Regions from separate parts of the Homo sapiens genome. Here regions 1 and 2 are each linked to region 3. Evidence: promoter capture Hi-C in 16 types of primary human blood cells and fetal thymus (Javierre and others, 2016). All regions are on one chromosome and are shown on one strand. Each heading gives the region's core, a stretch centred on a gene start or on the middle of the fragment in contact. The rest is flanking DNA. Distances are from core to core; before and after follow the strand shown.

The links. The method cuts DNA at HindIII sites, captures the fragments that hold promoters and counts their contacts. A CHiCAGO score of 5 or more calls a contact.
Region 1: a fragment that was not itself captured here is called in contact with the fragment with the promoter of DYNC1H1 in region 3 in 1 of 17 cell types (fetal thymus); the score reaches 7.3 in fetal thymus.
Region 2: a fragment that was not itself captured here is called in contact with the fragment with the promoter of DYNC1H1 in region 3 in 3 of 17 cell types (fetal thymus, naive CD8 T cells and total CD4 T cells); the score reaches 7.3 in fetal thymus.

Annotation. Positions count from the first base shown.
Region 1 is chr14:102,592,075-102,595,796 of GRCh38, reverse strand. It overlaps RCOR1 (REST corepressor 1), which reads right to left and starts at 3,148. Exons shown (of 12, transcript NM_015156.4): 1 at 2,610-3,148; 2 at 2,472-2,531. The coding sequence starts at 2,910. RefSeq lists silencers at 2,172-2,781, 2,842-3,722. The HindIII fragment of the contact is 855 bases long and covers 938-1,792 here.
Region 2 is chr14:102,515,715-102,519,748 of GRCh38, reverse strand. LOC105370680 (a long non-coding RNA gene) reads right to left here and starts at 2,282. Exons shown (of 4, transcript XR_944239.2): 1 at 2,039-2,282. RefSeq lists an enhancer at 2,054-2,173 and silencers at 2,664-2,873, 2,894-2,943. The HindIII fragment of the contact is 3,153 bases long and covers 165-3,317 here.
Region 3 is chr14:101,963,182-101,966,993 of GRCh38, reverse strand. DYNC1H1 (dynein cytoplasmic 1 heavy chain 1) reads right to left here and starts at 2,421. Exons shown (of 78, transcript NM_001376.5): 1 at 2,047-2,421. The coding sequence starts at 2,302. RefSeq lists silencers at 1,729-1,938, 2,429-2,588 and enhancers at 1,464-2,073, 2,074-2,684, 2,729-2,868. The HindIII fragment of the contact is 2,903 bases long and covers 899-3,801 here.

The DNA of each region.
Region 1 (3,722 bases), core at 116-2,615, 630 kb before region 3:
CCATCCTGGCTGACACGGTGAAACCCCGTCTCCACTAAAAATACAAAAAATTAGCCAGGAGTGTTGGTGGGCGCCTGTAGTCCCTGCTACTCTGGAGGCTGAGGCAGGAGAATGGCGTGAACCTGGGAGGCGGAGCTTGCAGTGAGCTGAGATCACACCACTGCGCACTCCAGCCTGAGGGACAGAGCAAGACTCCGTCTCAAAAAAAAAAAAAAGAAATTTGGAAATTTTAATATCAATACTCAACCAATTGGCAGCAAGACTATGCAGCAAAACAGTTAGATGTTTTCCTTTTTATTTCTGAGACAGGGTCTCACTCTGTCACCCAGGCTGGAGTGCAATGGCCAGATCACTGCTCACTGCAGCCTTGACTTCCCAGAGATCCTCCAGCCTCAGACCCCCCCGTAGCTGAAACTACAGGCACATGCCACCATGCCCAGCTAATTTTTTTATTTTTTGTTGAGACAGAGTCTGACTACATTGCCCAGGCTGGTCTCCAACTCCTGAGCTCCAGAGATCCTCCAGCCTTGGCCTCCCCAAGTGTTGGGACTACAGGTGTGAGCTACTGCAATCTGATAAATGTTTTCCATTTTAGAATAGCTGGTCACTAGCAAGTTTATGCTCATATCTATTCCAACAAAAAGCCCAAAGACAGTTCAAAATATTATATTTGCTGTTTCAAAGAAAAGTATAACTCCAAAGAAGTCAAACTCATTACTAACAATGCAGAGCTGATGTCAATATTTCGATGAATGTCAGAAATCTAATTCCTGTTGTTGACAAATATGCCCTTTTCCTTAGTCACATCCAACACATCTACATAAAGTTTTCAAAATTTATGTTAACAAAAATGTATCAAAAAGCCTACCAACTTACTCAAAGATTTGTGGAAGTCGATTTTTAAAAATAATACATTAGGAAAATTTGGTAACAAGCTTTATGTTCTGTGTTTTAAAGCAAAGATAGACTTGACCTACAAAATGAAGACAGGGTCAACTGTAACCAAAAAACAGTATGCTTCCCCTGGTGGCCAACCAAGGAACGGAGGAGCCAAGCATACAAGAGATATAGCCTGGCCACCTAGTTCTATCCTGTCACTCATAAACGAGAAGTGACTACCAAAAAAAAAAAAAAGAATTGGGGAGAAGAGGAAACTATCAAAAACACTAACATGGACTTAAAAGAAACACAAACGCGAGTATTAGACAAATAAATTTAACAGATTTACGTCAACAAATCAAAATTTAGAAGGCCAATTTAGGAAGTCATTTATTTCCAGAGTGTCCAAGAGCTCACCTAGGACCTCTATGTATTTTCACTTCAAAGTGCAGTTTAGTACCTTAATAACAGCTTGAGAGCAATCGCCTTTTTCAAGGACTAGATCATTGCAATTTTCTGCAGTCTTGTTTCCAAGGAAAAAACATGTATGCGTTTATCTTTTCAAATAAACTAGTGGTATAACCCACATACAGAACCCCAGCTCTAAAGCCCTCCAACCATGGAGGATTGTTAACTCCAGCTTTACAAGATGCTCTTTTGAATTTTATTTCTGAAATAAATCCTACGTTCTTTCAAACATTTTCCATACCAACAACCTTTAAAGACAGTCTCATACAGACACTGGCTAGAATCTCATGCATTAAAATCTGACGAATTCCTTTGTCTGATCGGATTTTTTTTCTTGTACCACTTTAAATTTGCTTCTACACAGAATAGCAGCCAGGGAACTAAGTGTTCCATTCTAGGGTGTAGGGCTTTCTTGTAGGTGAAAAGCATTTGTTAGGCTAAAGCTTCTGATGCTTCTCAATTTCACAATCTCTTCCTCCAAAAAAAAGGAAATACACACATTTACAAATAGGTCCTAAAATCCAACTGCCACACGCGAGACTCTCTTCCCCAGGCAGGCGCCCTCTGGAAAACACACTTCTTTTATTGACTGGTTTTGGGGGGTCGTTCTTCTACTCGCCTTCTGGATGGGAGGGCAGTCAGGAGCCAGCAAGAGCCCAGAGGCTGAGAGGAGGAGCAAAGGCGTGGGGAGCAGCCTTTGGGAAGGGTTCCGAGAAAGGGGTCTCTGGGGACCTCCTAAGTCCGGGGCGCTCGCAGGACACTAACTCTCCGGCACTGCCACCCTTACCCCTGGCCGAGGCGCAGCTCACCTGGACGCAGGGACCCCCAGCGCCCCCAGGCCAGGTGTGGCCACCTCCGACGCCACCCGCAGTCCTCGGAGGCGCAAGGGGGCAGCGGCGCCGGCCCTGCTGGGGGCGACCTGGCCTCCCCCGGGTGCAGAGGCACGTTTGCAGAACACTCGTGTGCGTGTGCGCCTCCTCGTCCTCGCCCTGCTGTTCTCCCCACGGACGGCAGGGCGAACGCACAAAAAGAAAGTTGTCGGCGGGCTCCCGCCCCCTCGGGCTCGCCGGGGACCCGGGGCTCCCGCTCATCCCCGCCGCCGGCCGGCCGGGGCCGCTACTCACCGGGGTCGAAGTCGGGCACCACCGCCTGGTACTGGGGTCCGACCCTCATGCCACCGCCACCTGCGGGGGAAGCAGAATACGGCGGTCAGCGCGGCGCGGGGCGCGGGGCCCGGGGCCGCGGGGGCGGCTGCCACCTACCGTGCTCCTCGTCGCTGGACGAGCCCGAGCTGCCTTCCTCCCAGGAGTTGCTGCTGCTGTTGCCATTGGGCGCCGCCGCCGCCAAACTTTTATTCTGGCCATTATTGGGGGCGGCGGCGGCTGAGGCGGCGGCGGCCGAGGCTGAGGAGGCGGCGGCGCCCGAGGCGGCAGTGGCGGCTGGCGAGGCGCAGGCGGCCGAGGCGGCGGCGGAGGCGGCGGCGGCGGAGGCGGAGGCGGCCGCGTTGTTCCTCCCTCTCCGCTTCCCTGAGACCTCGGGGCCCTTCTCCACCATGGCCGGCATCGGCGGGGGCCGGGGCCGTGCGAAAGTGGCGGGGACCCGCGGCTCCTGAGGAGGGGGCGCCGAGACGGGGGAGGGGGCGCGGGGCCGGCGCGGGGCCGGGCGGGCGCGGCGGGAGCCCACGGGCGCGAGTCCGAGTCGGGGGAGGCCCAAACGGGCAGAGCGCGGAGCCGCTTCAAGCCCCCAGCGACGAGCCGAGCGCAACTTTCGCTCTCATCGCCGCCCTCACTTCACTGGCACCAACTACTCCGGGAGCAGCGAGCGGAGAGGGGAGGAGGCAGGGGCGGGGCCTGCAGGGGCGCCGGGGGAGGGGGGCGCGCAGCCCAACTGACGCGAGATGGCTCCGCCCCCCCTCGCGCTCCCATTGGCTCTGGTGGGATTTGGACAGCCAGCGGCAGCGGGGTTGGCTCCGCGCGCCCGTCCGTCCGGGGCGGCGGGGCGGGGGAGCGGGGAGGGGCGGCTCCGGGCTTCCGTTGGCGAGGTTCGGTTGACGCGTATCGCCCGCCGTACGTGGTTTGAGGTTTGCCATCTCCCTACGCCCCATGATCCATCTCTCCAGGCAGCGGCGAGGAGTTCGCGGCCCTCCCCGCCCCCTACCCTTGGCCGCGGCCCCTGCCCTTGCTGCCCGCGCACGCCTCCCGCAGCCTCTGGCCCCCCATCTGAAGGACCCCGCTGAGAGTCCCGTCGACTTCTCAAAGTAAAATGTGTCTGGCGCTGGGAAGCCGCGGAGCGCCCGGCCGGGACTACTTTCCGCTGCGCGGAGGAGTACGGGCGCGCTAAGACTCCATACAAAGAGGAAACTAATTGGGGGAAAC
Region 2 (4,034 bases), core at 492-2,991, 550 kb before region 3:
CAGTGAGCTGTGATCATGCCACTGCACTCTAGCCTGGGTGACAGAGTGAGATCCTATCTCTAAGAAAATAAAAGAAAAAAAAAGAATATTGTTTTCATTTCTTGGGCAGGTACCTAGGAGTGGAACTGCTGGTTCCTATGATGAGTTTAGGAAATGGCCAAGCTTTTCCAAGTTGTTGCATCATTTTGCATTCCCACTGGGGGATTGTATGAGAGTTCCAGTTGCTCCATGTTCTTGTCAACAGTCGGTATGTTGGGATTTTTTTCTTTTCTTTTTTTTGTGAGACAGGGTCTTGCTCTGTCACCCAGGCTGGAGTGCAGTGGCATGATCACGGCTCACTGCAACCTTGACCTCCCAGGCTCAGGTGATCCATCCACCTCAGCCTTCTGAGTATCTGGGACCACAGGCAGGCACCATCATGCCCGGCTAATTTATTTTATTTTATTTTATTTTTGAGATGGAGTTTCACTCTGTCACTCAGGCTGGAGTGCAATGGCACCATCTCGGCTCACTGCAACCTCTGCCTCCCGGGTTCAAGCAATTCTCCTGCCCCAGCCTCCCGAGTAGCTGGGATTACAGGCACCTGCTATCAAGCCCAGCTAATTTTTTTTTTTTGTATTTTTTGCAGAGATGGGGTTTCACCACGTTGGCCAGGCTGGTCTCAAACTCCTAACCTCAGGCAATCTGCCTGTCTTGGGCTTCCAAGGTGCTGGGATTACAGGCATGAGCCACCGCGCCTGGCCACGCCCGGCTAACTTTTTTATTTTTATTTTTTGTAGAGATGAGGTCTCACTATATTTCCCAGGCTGGTCTCAAACTCCTGAACTCAGGTGATCCGCCTTGAGTTCAGGAGTTTGAGCCTTGAGCGTTTGTATCTTGATTTAGTGGTTGGTGCTCCTCCAACCTCCCCAGGCCCTGAGGATTTGGAGCTTCAGGGAGAAGGAAGAGAGTTCCCAGCCCCTCCTTAGCCAGTCCCATCCTCCTCCAGGAGCCTTCCCTGCTTGTTCTGGCCCTGGAAGGTCTGCTGTCTACGATCTGTCCCCACTGCTTCCCCATCATTGTGCTAAGCTGTGATGCCCATAATAATAAACCAGGCTTCCTGAGATTCATGCCTTTGTGAGTCTCATTCCACGTGAACTCTGGGCTTGTCTTGGAGAATGAGGTATTAGAAAGCATGATGGAAGCAGAGGTTTAATGAGCTCTTGCACACTGGGGCTTGTCCTGCCATGCTGTGAGGAAGACCAAGTTAGCCACGTGGAGAAGCCAAGCAAAGGAGCACCGAAGCAGGGTGGCAGCCCATGCTGGAGGCAGCCGAGCTCCCACTGGCAACCAGCACCAACTGTAGCCATGTGGATGAACCACTTGGACATTTCACTCCAGTTGGGCCTCCAGATCCCTACAGCTGTAGAGTGATCCCAGCGGGCGCCACAGGAAGCAAAAGAGCCATCCAGTCAATCCAGAGAACCGCAAACAATCCTACATCATTGCTGTTTAAAGCCACCCTGGCAGGGTTGTTTGTTGCACAGCAGAAGAGAACTGATACACTGTGGAGATCTCCTTGTCTCTCAGGGGTCACCGGCATAACCTGCAGCTCCTCCACCCTCCACCTTTCCCCTTCCTGTCCATCACTTTTGAAGGGTGGGCAGTTTACCTAATCACTGCCCTCCTGGGGCCAGGAAGCCCCTTCCAGTTCAGCCCTCTGCTCCCTTCACAATGGGCACTGAGGAAAGCATCTCCTGGCAGGGCCTCCGCACCCCTCCAGGCCCTCAGATCCCTGCTGGACATACGGACATAGGGTGGCATAGTGAGGGCTGGCTCCTGGGAATCCTGATGCCGCCACCTGGACAGCACTGGACCCTCAGTGGGCTCTGCTGACAGTGTCCTGGGGGTTCCTGGATGGGGACAGATGACAGGCCGAGGGGGTGGCGCAGCAGGGATAGGAGCTGCAATGGAAGGCTAGGCCGAGTCTCTCCCCACACTGCCCGCACGCTCTCCCCTGCATCCAGCTCCTGAGGCGCTCTGGCCTCAGCATCTGCACCTGTAAAGTGGGCCTGGAGTATGCGGAAGTCCCAGCCAGGCAGACACACAGGAGCCTGGTAGACGTGCGGCTGGGGAAGGCAAGGGAAGTGGCAGTTGGGACGCGCGAGCAGGCCGGGCTGCGTGGACGGCCACCAGGTGGAGGGTACAGGAGCGCTGGGGTCCGCTCTCCTAGGGAGATGGGGCTCGGACCGGGGACCCTGTCACCCGCAGTCCGCGGGCCGCGGGCGGGCAGAAGCAGAGCCTGGGACCTTGAGGGCGTCTCCCGACTGGGCGGGGGTCGGCGCTCGTCCCCGCTGGGAAGGCCGGGAAGCGGAGGCGCGCACAGCCCCCTCCCTGCGCCCAGCGCGGTCCGCGGACTCCGGCTGGGGGAGGGGAACCCGGAAGGGGCCCGCCGGACCACCTGCCTCGCCCGCCCCGCCGGGACCTCCGATCGGCCCAGCCGGGGGCAGGCGCAGTGGCGGCGGCGCGGATGGCGGGACTGTGGCCATTTCACCCGGGGGGAGGTGGAGACCCTGGTGGGCGGGGGGCCCGCCGAGGCCGCGGGGCGAGGGGAGAGCGGAGTGGGCACTCAGCCCGCGAACCCCGCCCCCGGGGCCAGGGCGCTGGGCGTCCCCGCCCCCGCACCCGCAGCCTGGTGCGCCCGGGTCGGGGGTCCCTCGCCCGGCTTCGGCGGAGGCTGCGGGTCGCAGTGACGTCCGCGGCCGCCAGGGGGCGGTGTCGGGCCGCGCTGGGCGCTGGGGTCGGGCTCCGGGCTGCCGCCCGCTTTCCCCTGAGCGGATGGGGATACTGAGGCCCGGACCCAGCCGTCACGGGCCAGGGCCTCGCCTCTCCCCGAGGGCGGTCGGCAGGGTCCGACCAGGGAACACCTCCGCCCCTGCAAACTCTCTCCGACCATGGCGCAGTTCAGCGGCGCTCAGTCCCCAACCCATGTCCCGGCCCCTTCCCCGCCTCGGGCCCGGAAAGTGATCTTGCGGACGCAGGGACCCGGCGGGTCGGGGCATGTGGGTAGAGGGCGCGCCCGCGCACTGGCCGCTGTCACCCTTGGGACTGCCCTGCACTGTGCGACCTGGGCCGGGCCAGGCCCTCCGGTCTCCGTTGCCCCTTCTGACTCACTGCTCTTCAAGCTGCAGCAAAGTCACAGCAGGCTTCGCCATGACCATGTCAGCCATACCCCTTCTGATGGTCACCTAGGTAGTTTCCAGGTTTTCCTTATTAAAGATGCAGCAGTGACTCTATCTCCCTAGTACTTGGTATGCACTTGTATTCTCTTCAAAGCTTTAATAATGAAATAGACATGAAATATAAGGCTGGGCGCGGTGGCTCACGCCTGTAATCCCAGCACTTTGGGAGGCCTAGGCGGGCGGATCACGAGGTCAGGAGATCGAGACCATCCTGGTTAACATGGTGAAACCCCGTCTCTACTAAAAATACAAAAAAAATTAGCCGGGCGTGGTGGCGGGCGCCTGTAGTCCCAGCTACTCGGGAGGCTGAGGCAGGAGAATGGCGTGACCCGGGGAGGCAGAGCTTCCAGCCTGGGCGACTCCGTCTCAAAAAAAAAAAAAGAAAGAAAGAAAATACAAAATTCAGCTAAATTCTTTTTTTTTTTTTTTTTTTTTTTGAGATGGAGTCTCGTTCTGTCACCCAGGCTGGAGTGCAGTGGCGCCATCTCGGCTCACTGCAACCTCTGCCTCCCGGGTGCAGGTGATTCTCCTGCTTCAGCCTCCCGAGTAGCTGGGATTACAGGTGCCCACCACCATGCCTGGCTAATTTTTTTTTGTATTTTTAGTAAAGACGGGGTTTCACCATGTTGGCCAGGCTGGTCTCAAACTCCTGACCTCAGGTGACCTGCCTGTCTCAGCCTACCGAAGTGCTGGGATTCCAGGTGTGAGCCACTGCCCCCGGCTGCTAAATTATTTTATGAAACATTAAATAATTAAGTCAGTTGAGGTGGCTCACACCTGTAATTCCAGCACTTTGGGAGGTTGAGGCAGGAG
Region 3 (3,812 bases), core at 1,172-3,671:
TTTTAGATAGTCTCATTCCTTAGTCAACTTTCAAAAGTGCAAGTCATTATGGAGCCAAGATTTGGATACCTGCATATTTGTTTTGCTGAAAGAAAAAAAGGTACTCATAAGACAACAGAGAGAATTTGTAGTAGATATTGTACTACATAAACATAGTCCCCCCACCCCAATAATTTTAGCAACGTCCAATTTTAAGATGCCTGGAAAAAGCGAATTACTGGTGATCACTCTAGAAGCAAAGTATAAAACTTAAATTTTTTTTCATAAAAAGAGTGACACAAGGTAAAAAAAATAAAATCACTGATTCTAATACATAAACTATGCAATAAAAATATCAAGGATTAGCAATGGTCAAGCTACTCAAAATACAATTAACTTTAAAAATGCAGATTAAAATGTATTTTAATAAAATGACGAATATGCATTGAAAAATGACCACAAAGACATAAACCAAAAATGCTGACAGTGATTATATCTGGGTCAAACAATTCCCAGTGATTTTTACTTTAGCTGTATAGTACATTTTCTACAATGACTATATGTTTTTTGGAAAAAAAAAAGAGTAGATAAATTTTTTTTTTTTAACTTTTGTGGCTTCCACTTAGGAATACATAATCCCAAACATCACAGTAAACAACCCTCAAAAACATTAATACTCTAAATATGCTCAAATGGTTTATTTGCCTTGAACATTCCACGTGGATATAAGAAAAAAATATTCTTTTACACCCTGCTAATCTCTGGCAGGAAACCAAGGCTACAGGGAAGCATCTTCTGAGTAAGAATAGCCTTTGAAAGAAACAAACCATCAGAAACACAGTGTGTGTTAAGGATGGGGCAGACAGTACAGGGTCTCTCACTGAGAGAACCATACAGTTTTTTGAAATTTTAAGAAGCTTGTTGGCAAATATTTTTAGACAATCTCCAATCCCTAGAGGCTAACCTTGGACATCATCCTTAGGTTCTTAGATGGACACGCCACACCCAAAGTGGTTGTAATGGGCTACAAAGTGGTTGTAATGAATCCATGAGAAAGCCTGCCTGCAGGCAAGCCCCAGACTTAGATGAATGTAACCTTGCTGGTGGGCGATCATTATTTGAGGAGACAGCTGGAACACGCTAACTCTAGCCTCTTCCCCCTACTAGGTGCCTAACCTGAATCTTTTTTTTTTTTTTTAATCTGTAAAATTAGACTCAAATATTACAGGGTTATCATTAACATCATCGAAGCATTAAACAAATATGAGGTATGATCAGTGAAAACAAGCAGTGGATGGGGAGCTGAGACACTGAGTCTAGTCTCAGGACTAAGATTAGCTGGTGACCTTGGGTGAAATCACTTAACCTGAGCCTCAGTTTCCTCAGGTGTAAAATCAGGATACACCCGTTCAGCAAGGATGCTGTGAGAGCATCCACCTACAACAGTGATGCTCGCAGGCCCGGGGCTGGCACCGTCGCTCTGTGGGCCTCGGCCTCTGGGTCCCCACAAGGCAGGGCTGGGACACCCGCCCGACCTCCTCCCGAACCAGAACCCCGGCTGCCCCCAGCTCCGCGGGTCTGCCCCCGACACATCCCTCCCGAAGGCCACTTGGCTTGGACACAAATCGAAACCGAAAAGCTCATGTGACACTGGAGGCAGGGATGCGGCCTCGCCCGCTCTCAGCCCAGGGAGACGCTGTCTCCACCCAACTCGGCCATCTTGAGAGGCCCGAGCAGACAAAGCGACCCCATTGTTTTGGGTGACGGCAGACGGGGACCCCTTTCCCCTCCCCGCGACCAGGAGCGGGGCGCCCTGGGGGCTCCGGGCCGGGCAGTGGGTGTGGCGAGGGCGAGCCCCGGGCGCCGCGCCGGCCTCTGCGGGGCGTCTGCGGCCCTGGGGACCCGGCCGGCGGGACGTCTGCGGCCGCCGGGCTCTGCCCATCCAGGGGTCATCTGCAGCTGCCGGGCTCCTCCCATCCCGGGGACATCTGCGACCCCGGAGGACCTGGCAGGCCCTGCATTCCGCGAGGCCTGGCTCTGGCGACCCTGCCCTCCGCGGCCCCGCACCTTTGAGCGTGGAGCGCTCCACCAGCACCGTGTGGACCTGCGGGTCCGAAAGGAACTTGCGCATCTGCTCCAGGGCGCTCTTCTCCTCCAGCGCCGCCTCCAGCGCGGCCGGCGCCTCGCCGCCGTCCTCCAGCAGCAGCGGCACCAGCTTGCGCAGGTGCTTCTGCAGCACCGACACGTCCGCCACATTCTGCACGGCCGACACTTCCAATCCGGCCGAGCCGTCCTCGCCGCCGCCGCCCCCGGGCTCCGACATGGTGTCGCGCTCGGGACCTTCCAGGAGCGATGAGAAGGCGGCCGCGACTCAGCGAGACAGCCAGCAAGAGACAGAAACGGCCGCCGGAAGCCGGACCGTCCGCTAGCCCACCGCAGACTGAGGAGAGCGGGAGCCGGCTCCGCCCTAAAGGCAGCCACTGCCAGGTGGCCCCGCCCCGCCCCGCCGGCCGCAGCCGCCGCAGCCACCCGCGCTCGCTCGCGGCCTTAGCGTCACGGCGCCGCGCGTGCGCGGGGGGCGGGCCCGGCGATGTCGCCGCGCGCCCTTCTGGGACTTGTAGTCTCGGCGCTGGTCGGGGCCCGCAGCCTCCGCACTGCGAGTCCTAGGAGATGGGGACTTGGCTCAACGTCCTGGCTCGGCGCCCGGGCTTGGCGAGGTTGGTCAGGGGCTGCGTCTGTCTTCTTCACTGCTGTGGACGCAGCGAATAGCACACAGCCAGAGAAACTTTATAGTGAATCAGTGATGTTATTGGCGAGAGCTAACGTTTAGTGAGCGCTTAGCCTGTGCCCGGCGTTGTTCTAAGCCCCTTAACCTCTCATTAAATGTTCTCTCATTGAATGAATGAATGACTACGTATCAGGTACCAAAATATAGGCACGACAGATGTGTTATTAGATATAGACCGGGAGATTGAGGATACTTTTCAGAGGGGGAGGAGATGAGGGGCGTGCTCAGAGAGTCCCATTGCCAGGCTGGAAACGGACAGCTGGGGAGGGGGCCTTCGGGGCAGTGTAAGGTTAAGCCAGGAATGACACCTTCACTGTACGTAAAGCCAAGCTGTGATGGGATCTGGTTCCTAATGACAAAAATCATTGTCCCCGAGGACGCTGTGAGGACCAAGAGGGAGACCTACTGAGAACAGCTACCTCCAGCAATGGCTCTCCTCCAGCCCCCTAGAGCTGGCACTGTCATTCTGTGGGCCTCAGTATCTGGGTCCGTACAAGGCAGGGGCTGGGTTGCCTGCCCACCAAGTTTCCCCCTAGTTCGGACCCACCACGACCTCCTCCCCTACACCATGACTACATAAGAGCCAGAATCCAGGCTGCCCAGCTGGGTGCGGTGGCTCACACCTGTAATCCTAGCATTTTGAGAGGCTGAGATGGGAGGATTGCTTGAGGCCAGAAGTTCCAAGACCAGCCTGGTCAACCTAGCGAGACCCTATATCTATGTGTATTTAAAAATTAAGAATTTTGTAAAATAATAAAAATAATAGAATCCAGGCTGCCCATCTTTGTAGTTTAGAGATGGTAGGTTCTTCTAAGGGGTAGTAATTGGCCTTTGAAAGTTCACATTCATAACTTCTTTCTTAAGTTGGGTGGAGAGAGGGAAGCCAATGGCGTTTTTTTTTTTTTTGGTTTTTTTGTTTTTTTTAAACATCAAAGTGCACTGTCAGAGTGCCGAGTCCTGATTGGTGGAATGATGATGGTATGATTTGATTCTCCCAAATCATCTTTGAAAAACTGTGAAACATACAATAAGCTTATTCCTTGCC